Linked DNA regions of Homo sapiens: all the other regions are linked to region 1. The links are contacts of gene promoters, found by promoter capture Hi-C in blood cells and fetal thymus (Javierre and others, 2016). All regions are on one chromosome and are shown on one strand. Each heading gives the region's core, a stretch centred on a gene start or on the middle of the fragment in contact. The rest is flanking DNA. Distances are from core to core; before and after follow the strand shown. Region 1 holds the start of ZNF846 (zinc finger protein 846). Region 2 holds the start of OR7D2 (olfactory receptor family 7 subfamily D member 2). Region 3 has its middle 20 kb from the start of OR7D4. Region 4 overlaps ZNF317 (zinc finger protein 317). Region 5 overlaps OR7G3 (olfactory receptor family 7 subfamily G member 3). Region 6 overlaps ZNF558 (zinc finger protein 558).

Region 1 (2,940 bases), core at 292-2,791:
ACGATCTCAGCTCACCACAACCTCTGCCTCCCGGGTTCAAGCGATTCTCCTGCCTCAGCCTCCCGAGTAGCTAAGATTACAGGCATGCCCCACCACACCTGGCTAATTTTGTATTTTTAGTAGAGACAGGGTTTCTCCATGTTGGTCGGGCTGGTCTGGAACTCCCAACCTCAGGTGAACCGCCCACCTCGGCCTCCCAAAGTGCCAGGATTACAGGTGTTTAAGTTACCGCACCCGGCCAATACACATTGATCTACACAAGAGATGCAAAGAAACAGAAAACATGCAAAATATTAACAAATGATCAGTCTACAACAAGGATATATAATAGGTGTTCAATATTCTGGCCTTTCACATTTTCTTTGGTTTAGAATATTCAATCTACAGATAGCCTGGGCAACAAACCAAGACCCTGTCTTTAAAACGTAAATAAATAAATAAAAATATATGAGGGGGAAGGCCAGGCGCGGTGGCTTATACCTGTAATTCCAGCACTTTGGGAGTCCGAGGAGGGTGGATCACGAGGTCAGGAGTTCGAGACCAGCCCAACCAACATGGTGAAACCCCGTCTCTACTAAAAATGCAAAATTAGCCGGGCGTGGTGGCACATGCCTGTAATCCCAGTTACTCAGCATGCTGAGGCAGGAGAATCGCTTGGACCGGGAGACAGAGTTTACAGTGAGCCTATATCACGCCATTGCACTCCAGCCTGGGCAATAAGAGCGAAACTCCGTCTCAAAATATGTATATATACGAGAGGAAAAACGCTGAATCAAAACATGTCTCTTTCACAGTTAATACAACTGTAATTTCTGATACTGGTATAATGAAGGCGGCATCCTACTTCCTGGAAGCCCCTCCGTTTTGAAGCTCTTTGGGAGGTACTGACCTAGGAAGTTCAGCTGCTTTTGATCTCAAAAACACAGCGGAGTATTGCTACTTTGCTTTATAACTGTGGCAATATTTGCTTTTATTTCTATAAACCTACAACTCCTGCACACTTGACAAAGCATTTAACTGCTGAGCAATTTCGCAAACTTCAATAAGCGATGCCCTCCCACAGCCAGATCATCTCCTCCGTCCAGGGCTCACCGGAACGCACTGCAATCGCCCTGTCGGTGACAAGAGGACGCTGGGGCCCTTTTCCACAACAGCTGAGATGCTTTTCCTTCTGGAGAAAGGACACAAAGGTTGACTGGCTGCTTTTAAACAGAGGGGCACGGTGGTTGGAGAAAAAAACACGTCTCCACCGGGGACCCTGGGCCAGGCCCAGACTGATGCGGGCGCAGCGGGAAGAGGCGCTCAGAAGAGAAGGCGGGAACCCCCCGCCTCGGGGTCCTGGCGGGGAGGAGGCGCCGCTTCTCCGGAGCAGCAGCGGGAGGCCGGCGCGTCTCAGACCTAGCAGAAGTCCGGAGCGTCACCCTCCGACCCTCGCTCCGCCTCCCGCTAGGCCCTCCTGCCCCGCCCTGCCTAGGTTGAGCATGAGCGCTGGCTGAGGTGAAAACCCAGCTAGGAAGCTGCTGGAGAGCGGGGAATACGTATAGCTGCGCGCCGGCTGGCACTTCCGCTTCCGGTTGCGCACGGCATTAAGTGTAGGGGCCGAGCCCCAAGAGCTTTGGAATGAGGATGATGTGAAGCTGAGAGAAGAGCTGGGGCCACCTCTTCGACACGCGTACAGAAAAGTCCCGTTTTCTCGCATCCCAGGTGGACCAGGATCCAGATCAATCTGTCGATATTGGGAACGACGCCGGACCAGGAAACCCAGCGCCAAGGGCCGGGTTGGAGGCGGGGACTGGCGCAGCGGGCGGGGCACGCGTGGAGGCGTCACCTAAGGCTTCGATTGCAGACAGCGGGATGCTCATCGAGTGCTTTTCTTTTCTTTTTTAATTTCTCTTTTTAGTTTTTTGAGATAAGGCTCCGGTCTGTCGCCTAGGCTGGAGTGCAGTGGCTCGGTCATAGATCATTGCAGCCTGGAATTCCTGCGCTGAAGCTATCCTCCCGCCTCGGCCTCCGGAGTAGCTTGGACCACAGTTGGGCCCATCACGCCCAGCTAAGTTATCTTTTTCTAGACACTTGGGTCTCACTGTGTTCCCTAGGCTGGTCTCGAACTCCTGAGCCTAAAGGATCCTCCCCCCTCGGCCTCCCAAGCAGCTTGGACCACAGGTGTGTGCCACCACGCCTGGCTAATTTATTTTTATTTTATTTTTATTTTTTTGTAGAGACAGGGTCTCTCTTTGTTACCCAGGCTGATCTGGAACTCCTGGGCTCCAGTGATCCTTCCACCTTGGCCTCCCAAAGTGCTGGGATTATAGGCGTGAGCCACCACCCTAGGGAAATTCTTTTCTGCAGGATTTTCTCCTTGTTTCTTCAACCCTCTGCAGGGATATAAACATATTTACAAAGATAATCCCGCTGTAGTCCTAGCTACTGCGGGAGAATCGCTTGAGCCCAGGAGTTCGAGACCAGCGACACCCTGTTTGAAAGATTAACCTGATGGGGCTGGGGGCAGTGGCTCACGCCTGTAATCCCAGCACTTTGGGAAGCCGAGGCGGGTGGAACACGTGAGTTCAGGAGTTCGAGACCAGCCTGGCCAACATGCCGAAACCCCATCTCTACTAAAAATATTTTTTAAAAAATAGCCGGGTGTGGTGGTGGGCGCCTGTAATCCCAGCTACTCGAGAGGCTGAGGCAGGAGAATTGCTTGAACCTAGGAGACTGAGGTTGCAGTGAGCTGATACGATGCCACAGTACTCCAGCCTGGGCGACAGAGTGAGACTCCGTCTCAAAAAAAAAAAAAAAAAGATTAACCTGTTAATCCATAAAATGCTCTGTGCCTCTGATACATTCAGTTCCTTCTTTAGGCCTTTAGTTTTGTTGTGATACAATTATCATAGCATACAATTAACCTGTTTAAAGTGTACAGTTTCGTGGCTTTTTGTA
Region 2 (2,974 bases), core at 298-2,797, 590 kb before region 1:
AAAGAAAAAAAAAGAGAGAGGAGAGAGAGAGAGAAAGAACATTCGGACACATATACAGCATACATGAACCTTGGCAATATTTCACTTAAATGAAATAAGTCAGTCACAAAAAGACAAACAGTGTATACTTCCGTCTATGAAGTAGGTACCACAGTCAGAATTATAGAGACAGAAAGTGGTATGGTGGTTCATTAGGGGCTGGGGAGGGTGAATGAGGGATGAGTGTTACGGGACAGAGTTTCAGCTTGGGGAGATGAGAAGATTCTGAATATGGAGGATAGTGATGGCTGCTGTGAATATACTTAATGCCACTGAATAGTACACTTAAAATGGTTAAGATGGTGAACTGTATGTTATGTATATTTTACCATCATTTTAAAAATTGAAAAAAACTTTTTTCTTATTGTTCAGTTCCTCCCAAACTTGCCATCAATGAAATTTTCCCCATCACTCTACCCAGATCGCTGTTTCTAATGTTTTCCATGCCATTAAATGTGATGGATATTCTTCAGCCTTTATTTTGCTTAGCCTTATAGCATCGTTTTACATGGTTGTTAGAAATAAATCTTGGAGTCATAAAGAAAAATGAGCACTCAAACAAAGGATTTCTCAGCAAAGCAAATTTACTTCTGCGCAGAAGGGTGCTTCTCGTAGGGTTGGCTGCTACAAGAGCACCCTGAACAAAGGAGAGTAGCAACTTTTATTCTTAATGCGACTCTTGACTTTGTGTGTCCTTTCCCCATTGGCTGGGGTCGGACAGCACAATCTAAACTAGACTTGATTGGTTACACATTTAAACTGTCTTAGATAAGGTGGGTGTGTGATGGGAGACAGAGGAGAGGAGGAAGGGGTCTTCTACAGAGGAATAGACAGCTAGTCTATTCTTAAATAAGGAAAGAAATGTGAGCTGGGGCTATGGCATATCTGGGCATGCAGCAAAATCAGAAAGAAGAAAAGGAGAAGAAAGTGTGTGGGGGGGGTACTTGGAATTAGAGAATAAGAAGCTGAGCAGGCTGTTTGAAGAGAAATCTTGCTGTATCTCGCAATGGTTGACTCTCCCTCTCTTGAAACAGGACTTACGACATGTCCACAGCCTGTTTAACGCCCTGCAGCCAACGCGATCACAGGGGATTCACGGAAATAGTTGCATCTCTATTTTCTTCTGTGTTACCTTGAGACCCTTAGGCACTGGGATTACAGAGAGATGGGTCTTTGTAGCTTCTGCGACACATTCCAGAGGGGAAAACCTCTTTATCTCAAAGCCAAACCAATAGTGATGAAAGCTCTTCCAAGAATAAAGAGGCCCCAAGAGGGTGGGAGGTGCAGAGAGAGTCACCTGGCTTCAGAGCTGCCTTCTTGGAAACAGAATTAGAACACATCATACCTTTCTGCCATTTGCTCTTGATCCCAAGGGAGCCGAATGGGTTGGAGAGTAGAACATCACTGGAACAGTGGATTTAATGAGGAAGGATGAGACATCAGCTCCCTGGGGCTTGAGAAACCATAAATACTTCCCTAAAACACCTCACCTGGACAGTTTCCTGACGCCACACTCATGCATCTTAGAGAGGAGAGTTAGGATGACTTCATGACAAGTTCCATCTCCCCGCCTTTCCCTGCTAGATTCTGTCTTCAGCATTCAACAGTCAGGGGAGGAAGACGTCATACCAGCATTTTTTTTTTTCAAGCAATGTCAGTTGAGTGACTCACACTATCCTTGTTAGTACCGTGTGTGAAAAGGATTTAAAAAGTAGTGTGGGGAGGAACAGAGATGGAGGTAACAGGGTTGATAATGTCTCATGATTTTTAAAATGTCTCTAGGATTCCCTTACCTGGTTATAGATGTCTTAAGGCATTGCAACTTTTGGGAGGCTGAGGCAGGCGGATCGCTTGAGGCCAGGAGTCTAAGACAAGCCTGGCCAACTTGGTGAAACCCCATCTCATCTAAAAATACAAAAATTAGCTGGGCATGGTGGCGGATGCCTGTAATCCCAGCTACTCGGGAGCCTGAGTCAGGAGAATGGCTTGAACCCGGGAGACAGAGGTTGCCATGAGCCAAGATCACGCCACTGCACTCCAGCCTGGGTGACAGAGTGAGTGAGACGCTGTCTCAAAAAAAAAAAAAGATTCTATTGCAACTGTTTCTGTCACCTCCACCTCTGATGGCCTTTCATTCTGGAAACTAGTGACTTTCTCAATGTCAGTAGGAACTGGCACTTCCTTGAGTGGATTCCTTTCAGTCTACCTGCTAACACCTTCCTTTTTCTTCTCTAGTATAATATAATAGTTCTCGGCCGGGTGCAGTGGCTCATGCCTATAATCCCAGAACTTTAGGAGGCCGAGGCGGGTGGATCACAAGGTCAAGAGATCGAGACCATCCTGGCCAACATGGTGAAACCCTGTCTCTACTAAAAATACAAAATTAGCCGGGCATGGTGGTGTGTGCCTGTAGTCCCAGCCATTTGGGAGGCTGAGGCAGGGGAATTTCTTGAACCTGGGAGGCAGAGGTTGCAGTGAGCTGAGATTGCACCATTGCACTTCAGCCTGGGCAACAAGAACAAAACTCCGTCTAAAAAAAAAAAAATCAACAAAGCAAAGCAAAACAAAACAAGTATGTATTAAATGTTCACTCTGCACCAGATGTTACATATATTATCATTGCAATTGTGAATGGACTTTTTTTCCTCTTATTTTTTCTCATGGCTGTTTGCAGATACATAAGAAAGCTGATGACACTGATTAGTTGTAATTAATTGTGTTTAAGTTGACTTTTTTTTTTTTTGAGACAGGGTCTTTCTGGGCTCAAGCAAACCTCCTGCCTTGGCCTCCCAAGTAGCTAATTTTTTAAAAATCTATTTTTGTAGAGGCAAGTGTCTCATTTTGTTGTCTAGGCTGGTCTCAAACTCCTGGCCTCAAGAATTTCTCCTGCCTTAGCCTCTCAAAGTGCTGGGATTACAGGCAGGAGTCACAGCAC
Region 3 (2,926 bases), core at 21-2,520, 570 kb before region 1:
ACACCTGTCGTCTGCATCAGGAGGCTCATGTCTGACCCTGTCTTCCTGCCAGTCCTGAGGACGGAGCCTGAGCCTCCATCGTGCACCACGCAGGGAGGACAGCGGACCTGCTCTCCATGATCATGGCCCAGCAGAGGGGAAGCGCAGCTCAGTGAGTGCTGAGGGATGGTCGGGAGCCTTCTTTCCTCATCCTCAGGACAAACAGGACAGTGGAGTGGCAGATAGGAGGACATCAATGTGCAAAATATCAGCTCAGACAACTGTGGAGTTTATGTTCTTGATTGTGGTGGGGACTCTGAAATCTCACTCAAAGTTTTACTTTCTCCCTCCACTGGTTCTACTTGCTATAGACATCTCACTGAAGCTAGGAAAAAATAGGTCTCTCTAAGCTATTCCATGAACACTGTAAAAGGATTATGAAGCTGATGATGAGGATGAGGAGGAAGAGGACAGTCACTATGACATCATGAACTTTTCCTGAGGGCTTCCTGAATGCCAGGCGCCCAGTTCTGTGTTCTATGTGGTTTGTTTCATTTTATCTGCATAGCCTTCTGCAATCCATAAGTGCACACATTATTATTATTTTGCACGAGGAAAGGAGCTGTGCATTTTTATGTAACTTGTAGTATTTCATGAAGTAGAGAGGAGTAAAGCCATGTTTGAATCAGGCCATCTAAATCCTTGCACATGGCATTTGGCTAGGCCTCTTCCTGCATCCAACCTGCCCTCTCGAATCCCTGTCACTCTGGACCCCTGGTGTGCTCACTGCTTACCAGTGGGTTCCTGGTAGACCACAGCTAGACCAGTGGGTGCTACGTTCACTGTATCAAGTATAGAAAGGGCAGCTGAGATCACATCAAAGATCCCAGAAAGAACTGGCACAGGATCCTTCAGGGTGCATCTCTCCCTTGCCCCTGTTCCTGGCTTTCCTTGCAGCTCTCCACCTCCTGAAAGGAGAAATAAAATCAGAGTTTTGGCCTCATTCCTACTCAGGAATCTGGAAACAGTTTGAAAATGCACCTCCGATGTGCCTGTGGTTAAGACCTCTTACCTCTGCTTACAACTTTCTGATAGCTGGGAAACATAAAAAAGGTTCATGCCTGAGACTCAGAGACTGATCATTTATTAGGTTGGTGACAACAGTAATGGCAAAAACCTCAATTACTTTTGCATCAACCTATAATTTTTTTAAAATCCTGTTATTCCACTTATCTGTGTGGCAGGGGGCAAGATGTTAGTGTTTCTGAGACTCAACATTGCCACCTGAGTTGATTTCTAGTTGACACAGATACATTCAGTATTGATTAAGCAGATCATGGGGGCTCCCTGTGGGATCTATTTGTGATGGATGCATAAAGTAAAGGCAACGTGTATTCTAGAAATTGTTATTAATATTTTAAGATTAATCTTTATATCACTCAACTGAAATATCCTGTGACCTGAAGTTACTGTTTCTGTACTTCCCACAGGACATTTTATTTTTGTCCTTATATAATTAAGTACTGATTATTGTGACAGAAACAACTGAGTCTCTTTCATCTCTAATTCTCCAGAGTCTCTAACCTGCTTGACACAGAGGAGGCATCAGAAATAAAAATCTCTTTTAAGAGAAATGCAGGTCAGGCGCATTGGCTCATGCCTGTAATCCCAGCACTTTGGGAGGCTGAGGCGGGTGGATCACTTGAGGTCAGGAGTTTGAGACCAGCCTGGCCAACATGGTGAAACCCCATCTCTACTGAAAATACAAAAATTAGCTGGGCATGGTGGTGGGCACCTGTAATCCCAGCTACTCAGGAGGCTGAGGCAGGAGAATCACTTGAACCTGGGAGACAGAGGTTGCAGTGAACTGAGATCGTGCCTCTGCACTCCAGCCTGGGTGACAGAGCAAGACTCCATCTCAAAAAAAAAAAAAGAGAGAGAGAGAAATGCAAATCGAAACTACAAGGAGATATCATCTCACCCCATTTAGAATGGCTTTTATCAAAAAGTCAGGCAATAGCAAATGCTCACAAGGATGTGGAGAAAGGGGAACAATTGCACACTGTTGGTGGGAATGCAAGTTAGTCCATCCATTATGGAGAACGAGTTGGAGTTTCCTCAAAATACTACAAATAGAGCTACCATAAGATGCAGCAATTCCGGGCCAGGTGCGGTGGCTCATGCCTGTATTCTCAGCACTTTAGGAGGCCAAGGCGGGTGGATCACGAGGTCAGGAGATCGAGACCATCCTGGCTAACATGGTGAAACCCTGTCTCTACTAAAAATACAAAAAATTAGCCGAGCGTGGTGGCGGGCGCCGGTAGTCCCAGCTACTCGGAAGGCTGAGGAAGGAGAATCGCTTGACCTGGGAGGCGGAGGTTGCAGTGAGCCAAGGTCGCGCCACTGCACTCTAGCCTAGGCGACAGAGCGAGATTCCATCTCAAAACAAACAAACAAACAAAAGATACAGCAATTCCATTGCTAAGTATATACCCCCCCATAAGGGAATCCATATATTGAAGAGATATCTGCACTCCCATGTTTATTACAGCACTAGTCACAATAGCCATGATTTGGAAGCAGCTAAGCATTCACCATCCATTCAACATATGAATGGACAAAGAAATTGTGTACATGTGCACAATAGAGCATTATGCAGCCATAAAAAAGGAAGAGATCCTGTCATTTGCAACAACTTGGATGGAACTGGGGGCCATCAATTTAAATGAAATAAGCCAGGCACAGAAAGATAAGCTTCACGCGTTCTCACTTATTTGTGGGATCTAAAAATTAAAACAATGGAAATCATGGAGATAGAGAGTAGAAGGATGATTACCAGAGGCTGGGAAGGGGAGTGGGGGTGAGGGGAAAAGTGCAGGATGGTTAAGCAACACAAAAGTATAGTTAGAGACAATGAATGAGATCTAGTATTAGGTGACTGTAATCA
Region 4 (2,803 bases), core at 52-2,551, 620 kb before region 1:
CTGAGGCCTCAGGGACAGGGAGACCTTCACAGAAGTGCAATCAGAACCTGGGTGTCAGCACCTCCAAATGGTGGGGGTGTTTCACAATGTGGACCTGTGGGAGATGGGGGAGAGGGGCCCAGGGGAACCCTGACCTTTAGGGGCTGGGCAGAGGAGGGATCTCAAGCCAGAGTCTTCAAAAGAGCAACCAGAGATGTGAGCACAGACTGGGATGAGTGGGCTATGGCTGCAAGAGCAGTGGCATTCCCAGGAAGAGGGAGATAGATTCATAGTGAGCAAGATGATGTGTCAGGAGGTCAGGCAAAGGAAGGGTCAAGATGTAGTGTCAAGGAGTTCCCACATAGGGGACAGTACAGGTGACATAGGTCACTTTGAGAGGCAACAAGATGTGGCTCCGCAGTCACGTCAGCTGGGCTCACAACTTCCACCTATGACCTTGACCAAGTGTCTCGGACCCTTGGTGCCTTATTCTCTGGGTACTTGAGAATAATTCCGGGAGGTTGTGAGGATTAAATAGGAGTGGCCCTGGAAAGACTCAGGAGAATGTCTCATACCTTGTAAACACTACACATGTCGTTATTTGTAGAATTGGCATTAATGTTGGTGGGGAAAGGTGGAATGGGACCTGCAGAAGCTTGTTAGTTGAGCATGAATGAATGAATGGTAGGTGAGGATGGAGATACTGTGCCTCAGGAACTGAGCCTCTGTCACCCTCTCTCCCCTTCCTCAGCAGTGACTTAATGTCAGAACCCAAAGGCACAATGACTAGAAAAGGGCTTTGTAAAAAGAATGAAAGCGTCATGCATCTTTGAGTTGGCCCAAGATCAAATTTGGTGTTGAATAATGAATCCCCAAGGCAGAGTTTATACGTTAAAACACACTTCCTATATTATTGTTTTGAAATGTTTCTGAATATCTAAAACAATTCCAATAGCAGAAATACTAATTGATGTTGAAAAAGATTGTTATAACCCTGGTAATGTTTAAAAGTGGTAATATTGATTATTGATCTGAGTCAGATGTTAAAGTAGCAGCGTCACGGTTCTTACATCAGTGCTGTCATGAGAGTCGCGGTGGAAGCCAGAGAGAGGAGGCATGTTCATACAAAGCAAATTAAATCCCCTCCCGAGGTGTGGGCCACCATACCTCACCAATGTATTGTGGTTTTGATGTTATTTCCTTAATGACTGATGTTGTTAATCATCTTTTCATGTGTTTACAGTTCATTTCTGTAAATTTGGAGAAATGTCTGTTCTGTTCAAGTCTCCTGCCCACTTTTTTACTGGGTTGTCTTTGTTGTTGAGTTTATAATGATATTAAATCCCTATCACATACATGATTTGCAAATATTTTCCACCATTCTGTGTCTCATTCACTTTCTTGATAATGTCCTTGATGTTAATTCTAAATGTTTGGTAGGGTTCACCAGTGAAGCCCCTTGGTCCTGGACTTTTTTTTTTTTTTTTTGAGACGGAGTCTTGCTCTGTCGCCCAGGCTGGAGTGCAGTGGCGCAATCTCGGCTCACTGCAAGCTCCGCCTCCCAGGTTCACACCATTCTCCTGCCTCAGCCTCCCGAGTAGCTGGGACTACAGGCACTCATCACCACGCCTGGCTAATTTTTTGTATTTTTAGTAGAGATGGGGTTTTACCGTGTTAGCCAGGATGGTCTCGATCTCCTGACCTCCTGATCCACCCGCCTCGGCCTCCCAAAATGCTGGGATTACAGGCGTGAGCCACCGTGCCCAGCTGGTCCTGGACTTTTTATTTAATGGCTTTTGATGACTGCCTCAGTCTCTTGTTATAGGTCTCTCAATTTTCTTTTTCTTCTAGAGCCTGTTTGGGTATGTTTCAAGGAATTTGATACATCTAGAGCATTGATCCCCAAGCCCTGGGCCACAGACAGGTACCGGTCCCTGGCCTTTTAGGAACAAGGCCCTGCCGCAGGAGGTGAGCGGAGGGCAAGTGAGTGAAGCTTCATCTGTATTTACAGCGGCTCCCCATCACTCACATTACCCCTGAACTCCACCTCCTGTCAGATCATCAGCAGCATTAGATTCTCATAGGGGCGCAGACCCTATTGTGCACTGCACATGCAAGGGATCTAGATTGCACACTCCTTATGAAAATCTAATGCCTGATGATCTGTCAGTGTCTCCCATCACCTCCAGATGGGACCATCTAGTTTCAGGAAAACACTCTCAGGGCTTCCACTAATTCTATATTATGGTGAGTTGTATAATTATTTTACCATATATTACAATGTAATAATAATAGAAATAAAGTGCACAATAAATGTAATGCACTCAAGTCATCCCAAAACCATCCCCCCTCACCTCACCATCCATGGAAAAATTGTCTTCCATGACACCAGTCTCTGATGCCAAATTGGGTGGGGACTGCTAGTGTAGATGATCTAATGTGTTGGTGCATAATTGTTCATGGCATTCTCTTACAGCCCTTTGAATTTCCGTAAGGTCGGTAGTAATGTCCCACTTCCACTGATGATTTTAGTTACTTGCATCTTTTTTTGTTAGTAATTCTAGCTGTAGTTTTGTCACCTTTGTTGATCTTTTTGAAAGAACCAACTTTTGTTTTCATTAATTCTCCTATTCTCTATTTCATTTGTCTCTGCTTTAATCTTTATTTCTTCACTTTTGCTTTCCCTAGGTTTAGTGTGTCAAGGTAGTTGTTTTTGTTTGTTTGTTTGTTTGTTTGTTTGTTTGAGACTGAGTCTCGCTCTCTCACCCAGGCTAGAGTGTGATGGCACGATCTCAGCTTACCTCAACCTCCGCCTCCCGGGTTC
Region 5 (3,108 bases), core at 28-2,527, 640 kb before region 1:
AGTCTCACTCTGTTGCCCAGGCTAGAGTGCAGTGGTGCGATCTCGGCTCACTGCAACCTCCGCCTCCTGGGTTCAAGTGATTCTCCTGCCTCAGCCTCCTGAGTAGCTGGGATTACAGGCATACGTCATCATGCCTGGCTAATTTTTGTATTTTTAGTGGAGACACGGTTTCACCATGTTGGCCAGGCTAGTCTTGAACTCCTGACCTCAAGTAATCTACCTACCTCAGGCTCCCAAAGTGCTGGGATTACAGGCGTGAGCCACCGTGCCTGCCATACCACATTTTCTTTATCCACTTATATGTTGATGGACATTCAGGTTGATTACATTTCCTGGCTATTGTGACTAATACTGCAATGAACATGAGAGTGCAGATATCTCTTCAGCATATTGATTTCAATTCCTTTGAAATTCAACAGCACAAACATAAATCAATATAACTATAGATAGTCAACCTAAATAACAGAAAGAGGCTATCTAAAAGAAAATGATGTTTATTGCCAAAGAAAGCATTGCAATAGCGATACGCGTGCCATCATAAACTATGTATGCATTCAAGGAGGTAAAGGAAGACAAAGTTTTTTAATGGAAAAATGAGGAAGGTTACATAATTGTTTTGAAATAATTATCCTTCACAGTAATAACTAATAACAAGGGTGATGCCAGTCTGAAGCTGGACAGGCAGTTGCTGGGCAGATGTACTTGCAGAAATATTTTTTGTGTAAGGTTGCAACAGCCTTTTGTGCAAGGTTGTGGTTTTTGTCGTCTCGTGATAGTTTTTGTCGTCTCGTGATAGTTTTTGTAGTCTTGTGATAGTTTTTGTTATTAGGCATGCAAGTGAAATAAATCTCTTCATGGCCTTCCCTAGCTTTACTTGTCAGGATGTTTTTGTTTTTTTCATTTTTGTTTGTTTGTTTGTTTTTCATGAGATGGAGTCTTGCTCTGTCGCCCAGGCTGGAATGCAGTGGTGCGATCTTGGCTCACTGCAACCTCCGCCTCCCAGGTTCAAGCGATTCTCATGCCTCAGCCTCCTGAGTAGCTGGGATTACAGATATGCGCCACAACGTCTGGCTAATTTTTGTATTTTTCATAGAGATGGGGTTTCACCATGTTGGCCAGGCTGGTCTCGAACTCCTGACCTTGTGATCCGCCCACTTCAGCCTATCAAAGTGCAGACTTTTTTGATAGCCGCTACACCCAGCCTTTTTTTTTTTTAATAAGTGACTCCATTTTGATTCTGACAATTTTAACAATATATATACCAAGTACAGTCAGCCTTCCATATCTGCCAGTACCACATTCATGGACTCAACCAACTGTGGATCAAAAATATTAAAAATATTAAAGAAAATTTTAAAAATATTAAATAAGAATATTACAAAAATACAATATTAAGTAATACAACTATTTACATAGGATTAACATTATGCTAGGTAATATAAGTAATCTAGAAATGATTTAAAGTATAGGCGACCTGGGCACAGTGGCTCACACTGCTTAATCCCAGCACTTTGGAAGGCTGAGGCAGAAGGATTGTTTGAGGCCAGGAGTTTGAGGCTGCAGTGAGTTATAATCACACCACTGTAGTTCAACCTCGGCAACAGAGCAAGGCTCTCTCTAAAAAAGAAATTAATCATTTAATATTAAAATTAAAAATTAATTACTTGATTTTTAAATTGTAAATAAATTACTTAATTTTTAAATTAAAAATAAATTAGCTAGCTGGGCATGGTGGCTCATGCCTGTAATCCCAGCACTTTGGGAGGCTGAGGCGGGCAGATTACCTGAGGTCAGGAGTTCAAGGCCCGCCTGGCCAACATGGTGAAACTCTGTCTCTACTAAAAATACAAAAATGAGCCAGGCACAGTAGCAGGCGCCTGTAATCCCAGCTATTCAGGAGGCTGAGGCAGGAGAATCGCTTGAGCCCCAGAGGTGGAGGTTGCAGTAAGCCGAAATTGAGCCACTGCACTCTAGACTGGGCGACAGAGCAAGACTCTGTCTCAATAAATAAATAAATAAATAAATAAATAAATAAGTTTTTAAATTTTTAATTAAATTTAATTTTTTTTAAAAAAAGACTTAGTATTGGATAGACCAGTAGGGTGACTATAGTTCAAAATAATCCATTGTATATTTCAAAATACCTAGAAGAGAACAATTGGAATGGTTGGAGCATAAAGATAAGACAAATATTTAAGGTGATGGATATCTAAAGTAACAAATCCTTGCAGATTATACAAATGTATTACACTATCACATGCATCCTGAAACAATGTACATCTCTTATGCATTGATACAAAAATTTAAAAAAAGCCAGGTGTGGTGGCATGCACCTGCAGTCTCAGCTACTCGTCAGGCTGAGTCCAGAGGATCGCTTTAGCCCAGGAATTCGAGGCAGCAGTGAGCTGTGATCACACCACTGCACTCCAGCCTGGGCAACAAAGTGAGAGACTGTCTCAAAAATCAATTAGTCAGTCAATCAATCCAAAAAGAACTCAAGTCCACGTGGTCCGATTCCAAAACTATCACCCTGAACCATCTGATCTCTGGTCTCATGTATTCAAAGACATTGGTCAGGTGGGGCACAGTGGCTCATGCCTGTAATCCCAGCACTTTGGGAGGCTGAGACGGGCAGATCACCTGAGGTCAGGAGTTCGAGACCATCCTGGCCAATGTGGTGAAACCCCGTCTCTATTAAAAATAGAAAAATTAGCTGGGCTTGGTGGCACGTGCCTGTAATCCCAGCTACTCCGGAGGCTGAAGCAGGAGAATCGCTTGAACCCAGGAGGCGGAGGTTGCAGTGAGCCAAGATTGCGTCACTACACTCCAGTCTGGTCAACAGAGCGAGACTCCATCTCAAAAAACAAACAAACAAACAAAAACAAAAACAAAAACAGAAAACCCCAAAGACATTAGTCAGGCTTTCAAGACTTCTCATTACTTCTTTCTCCCTGACATATCCCAGCAGTGTAAGCCCAAGAAGCTGAGACATCAATGGAAAGATGGTATCCTAGATATTAGTTTCCTCAAAGCCTTCAACATGTCCTTGTTTCTCAGGCTGTAAATGAGTGGGTTCAGCATGGGGGTGACCACGGTATACATCACTGA
Region 6 (3,052 bases), core at 120-2,619, 940 kb before region 1:
CAGGCTGAATGCAGTGGTGCAATCTCTGCTCACTGCAACCTCAGCCTCCCAGGTTCAAGCAATTCTCTTGTCTCAGCCTCCCGAGCAGCTGGGACTACAGGTGTGCACCACCACACCCAGCTAATTTTCGTATTTTTAGTAGAGACGGGGTTTCACCATGTTGGCCAGGCTGGTCTTGAACTTCTGACATCAGGTGATCAGCCCACCTTGGTCTCCTAAAGTGCTGGGATTACAGGTGTGAGCCACTGCGCCCAGCTTCTTTCCCTGTTCTTGTCTCGGCTTCAGCCATCCCTGTGTTCCCAGTGCAGGGAGCGTGGCAGCCTCTCTCCTGCTGCAGGGCCTTTCCTTACACAGCTTCTTCGACGGCAGTGCTCTCTTGGACATAACCCTGTCCCCTCACTCTAGTCGAGCCCTATGACTAGCTACATCTGACCCCAACTTGGAGATGGAGCAGCAATTCCCTTTTTCAGGGGCCTGTGAACCCCAAGTGGGAAAATAAAGGAAAATCCTGAAGTTCCTTTAAGGGAAATTCCGAGCATCCAGCTAGCCCCAAAAGTAAATATGGAACTTGTTAAACAGGAAGGTAATAGTAACCTAAAACAACAGCCAAAGAAGTTAAGGCTCCAGAGATGTTCGCTTTCCCCATGGAAACTAAAGATAACATCTTAACATGCGTCCCTGAGTTGCCTTTCAGAGGCTGGGACTCCCACTGAGGACCCCACCAAATGGAGCTGCTGGCTCAGAGACCCCAGATAAGCGGGACATGAAGGCTGAGCTTCAGCGTTCTTTGTGCTAAGTTTCTTCTTGAGGGGCTTGGAGAAAGTCACTTCTCCCAGCCAGTTAACATTTTCCTACTGACTCTAAATTTTTAAACAAAGCTTCTTTTCTTTAACCAATTACAAATCAGAAAAATCTTTGAATCTACCTATGACAAGCTCCTGCTTCAAGACATCCTTGCCCTTTTAAGTCTAAACCAGTGTGTAACCTCCATGTATTGCTTTATGATTTTGCCTGTAGCTTCTGCTTTTCTGTAACTTACCATTGCCTTCAGAAATCCTTGCCTAGCCGGGCACGGTGGCTCATGTCTGTAATCCCAGCACTTTGGGAGGCCTAGGCAGGCGGATCACCTGAGGTCAGGAGTTTGAGGCCAACCTGGCTAACATGGTGAAACTCTGTCTCTACTCAAAATACAAAAAATTTGCCAGGTGTGGTGGTATGTGCCTGTAATCCTAGGGACTGGGGAGGCTGAGGCAGGAAAATCACTTGAACCTGGGAGGCAGACGTTGCAGTGAGCTGAGATCGTGCCATTGCACTCCAGCCTGGGTGACCAAGTGAGATTCTGTCTCATTAAAAAAAAAAAAAAGGCCGGGTGTGGTGGCTCATGCCTGTATCATCTCAGCACTTTGGGAGGCTGAGGCGGGTGGATCACGAAGTCAGGAGATTAAGACCAGCCGGGCCAACATGGTGAAACCCCGTCTCTACTGAAAATACAAAAATTAACCGGGCATGGTGGTAGGCGCCTGTAATCCCAGCTACTCAGGAGGCTGCGGCAGAACTGCTTGAACCCGGGAGGCCGGGGGTTGCAGTGAGCTGAGATTGCAACACAGTACTCCAGCCTGGGTAACAGAGTGAGACTCCATCTCAAAAAAAAAAAAATTCCTTGCCTAAAAGCCACTGGGGAGGCCAGGATTTGAACATTTAATGTCTGGTCCTCCTTGCTTAGTGCTGTGCAATAAAAGCCTTTCTATCTATCGTAGCAACCCTCAATATAGACATCTGGTTTCACTGCACCACCAGGTGAGCAGACCCCAGTTTGGTTCTGTAACAACTTAAGCTCTCAAGCTAAATATCCTTCCCAAGAAAGCTTCCCTGTTCCCTCTGATCAAGTTCACTAGTGCCAAGCTCCCACATCACTCCTGTCATTCATGGTTTAAAATTTATCTTCCCTGTTAGAAGGTAAACTTTATGTAGGACAGGGGCCATTTCAGGTCCTCCAGGGTCCCTGTGCATCTGACCTAGGACCTGACTCATGGAGGCGACCTGGTTTGCCAAGGATTGTCCCGGTTTGAACACTGGATGCCCTGTGCCCTAGCAAACCCCTTGGTCCTGAAAAAATGAGGATGGTTGGTCACCATTAACTGTGCACTCAAATAATATCTATTGCATGATAAGTAAACATTCCTTCAAGAATGCTGTAGGAAAGCTAGAATGGAAAAGGTGAACACACACACAATTAGTAGAAACCCCACAATTTAATACTAGATTACTTAACATGATTCTCTGCAATATGAATCACCATACTGTTATTTCAGAGAAGTTTTAAGAAACAAAGTTAATTCCTATTAGGAGGTGATATCGTTGGCTCTGTGTCCCCCCACCCAAATCTCATCTCGAGTTGTAATAATCCCTATGTGTCAGAGGAGGGTCCTGGTAGGAGGTGACTGAATCATGGGGGCGGACTTCCCCCTTGCTGTTCTCCTGATAGTAAGTTCCCACAAGATCTGATGGTTTAGAAGTTTGGCGTTTATGTCTTCTCTCTCTCTCCTGCTGCCATGTAAGACGTGCCTTGCTTTCCCTTTGCTTTCTGCCATGATCGTAAGTTTCCTGAGGCCTCCCCCGCCATGCAGAACTGAGTCAATTAAACTTCTTTCCTTTGTAAGTCACTCAGTCTCAGGGAGTTATTTATAGCAGTGTGAAAACTCTCAGGTAGTTCTTTATAGCAGTGTGAAAAAGGACTAATACAGGAGGCAAGGTGCAGAGGACAATCTTTTTGGAAACCAGTTCCCTACCCTTCAATCTATAAGTTGTTGCTTAATATTCTTCCAAATGTTTTCAAATCTCATTAGGAAAAAAAAAATCCCATTACTCAAAACACATCTGGTCGCCGGTCAATTTAATTTTAAATTTGTTACTAATAAATCATCCTTTTTACAAATGCCCTTATATTTTGAAGTTTGGTGGAGGGCCAATATGCCTTTAGAAATCAAATCAACAGCTGGGTGCGGTGGCTCTTGCCTGTAATCCCAGCACTTTGGGAGGCTGAGGTGGGCGG

The links. The method cuts DNA at HindIII sites, captures the fragments that hold promoters and counts their contacts. A CHiCAGO score of 5 or more calls a contact.
Region 2: a contact is called between the fragment with the promoter of OR7D2 here and the fragment with the promoter of ZNF846 in region 1, in 12 of 17 cell types (erythroblasts, total CD4 T cells, naive B cells and 9 more). The highest score is 10.8, in erythroblasts.
Region 3: a fragment that was not itself captured here is called in contact with the fragment with the promoter of ZNF846 in region 1 in 5 of 17 cell types (activated CD4 T cells, naive CD8 T cells, naive CD4 T cells and 2 more); the score reaches 6.1 in activated CD4 T cells.
Region 4: a fragment that was not itself captured here is called in contact with the fragment with the promoter of ZNF846 in region 1 in 16 of 17 cell types (naive CD8 T cells, naive CD4 T cells, fetal thymus and 13 more); the score reaches 10.3 in naive CD8 T cells.
Region 5: a contact is called between a fragment that was not itself captured here and the fragment with the promoter of ZNF846 in region 1, in 1 of 17 cell types (neutrophils). The highest score is 5.4, in neutrophils.
Region 6: a fragment that was not itself captured here is called in contact with the fragment with the promoter of ZNF846 in region 1 in 2 of 17 cell types (non-activated CD4 T cells and erythroblasts); the score reaches 5.1 in non-activated CD4 T cells.

Annotation. Positions count from the first base shown.
Region 1 is chr19:9,767,197-9,770,136 of GRCh38, forward strand. It overlaps ZNF846 (zinc finger protein 846), which reads right to left and starts at 1,542. Exons shown (of 6, transcript NM_001077624.3): 1 at 1,093-1,542. RefSeq lists a silencer at 1,357-1,526 and enhancers at 1,470-2,335, 1,607-1,826. The HindIII fragment of the contact is 9,482 bases long and covers 1-2,940 here.
Region 2 is chr19:9,177,432-9,180,405 of GRCh38, forward strand. OR7D2 (olfactory receptor family 7 subfamily D member 2) reads left to right here and starts at 1,548. Exons shown (of 3, transcript NM_175883.4): 1 at 1,548-1,692. The HindIII fragment of the contact is 28,883 bases long and covers 1-2,974 here.
Region 3 is chr19:9,198,373-9,201,298 of GRCh38, forward strand. No RefSeq gene overlaps it. Among named protein-coding and RNA genes, the nearest start is that of OR7D4, 20 kb to the right of the region's middle. The HindIII fragment of the contact is 2,921 bases long and covers 1-2,731 here.
Region 4 is chr19:9,150,458-9,153,260 of GRCh38, forward strand. All of the region lies in intron 1 of ZNF317 (zinc finger protein 317), which reads left to right. Among named protein-coding and RNA genes, the nearest start is that of ZNF317, 11 kb to the left of the region's middle. The HindIII fragment of the contact is 1,338 bases long and covers 633-1,970 here.
Region 5 is chr19:9,123,021-9,126,128 of GRCh38, forward strand. OR7G3 (olfactory receptor family 7 subfamily G member 3) reads right to left here. Exons shown (of 1, transcript NM_001001958.1): 1 at 2,992-3,108. The coding sequence ends at 2,992. Among named protein-coding and RNA genes, the nearest start is that of OR7G3, 2.4 kb to the right of the region's middle. The HindIII fragment of the contact is 3,883 bases long and covers 1-3,108 here.
Region 6 is chr19:8,827,617-8,830,668 of GRCh38, forward strand. The region is part of intron 2 of ZNF558 (zinc finger protein 558); the gene reads right to left. Among named protein-coding and RNA genes, the nearest start is that of ZNF558, 3.2 kb to the right of the region's middle. The HindIII fragment of the contact is 986 bases long and covers 877-1,862 here.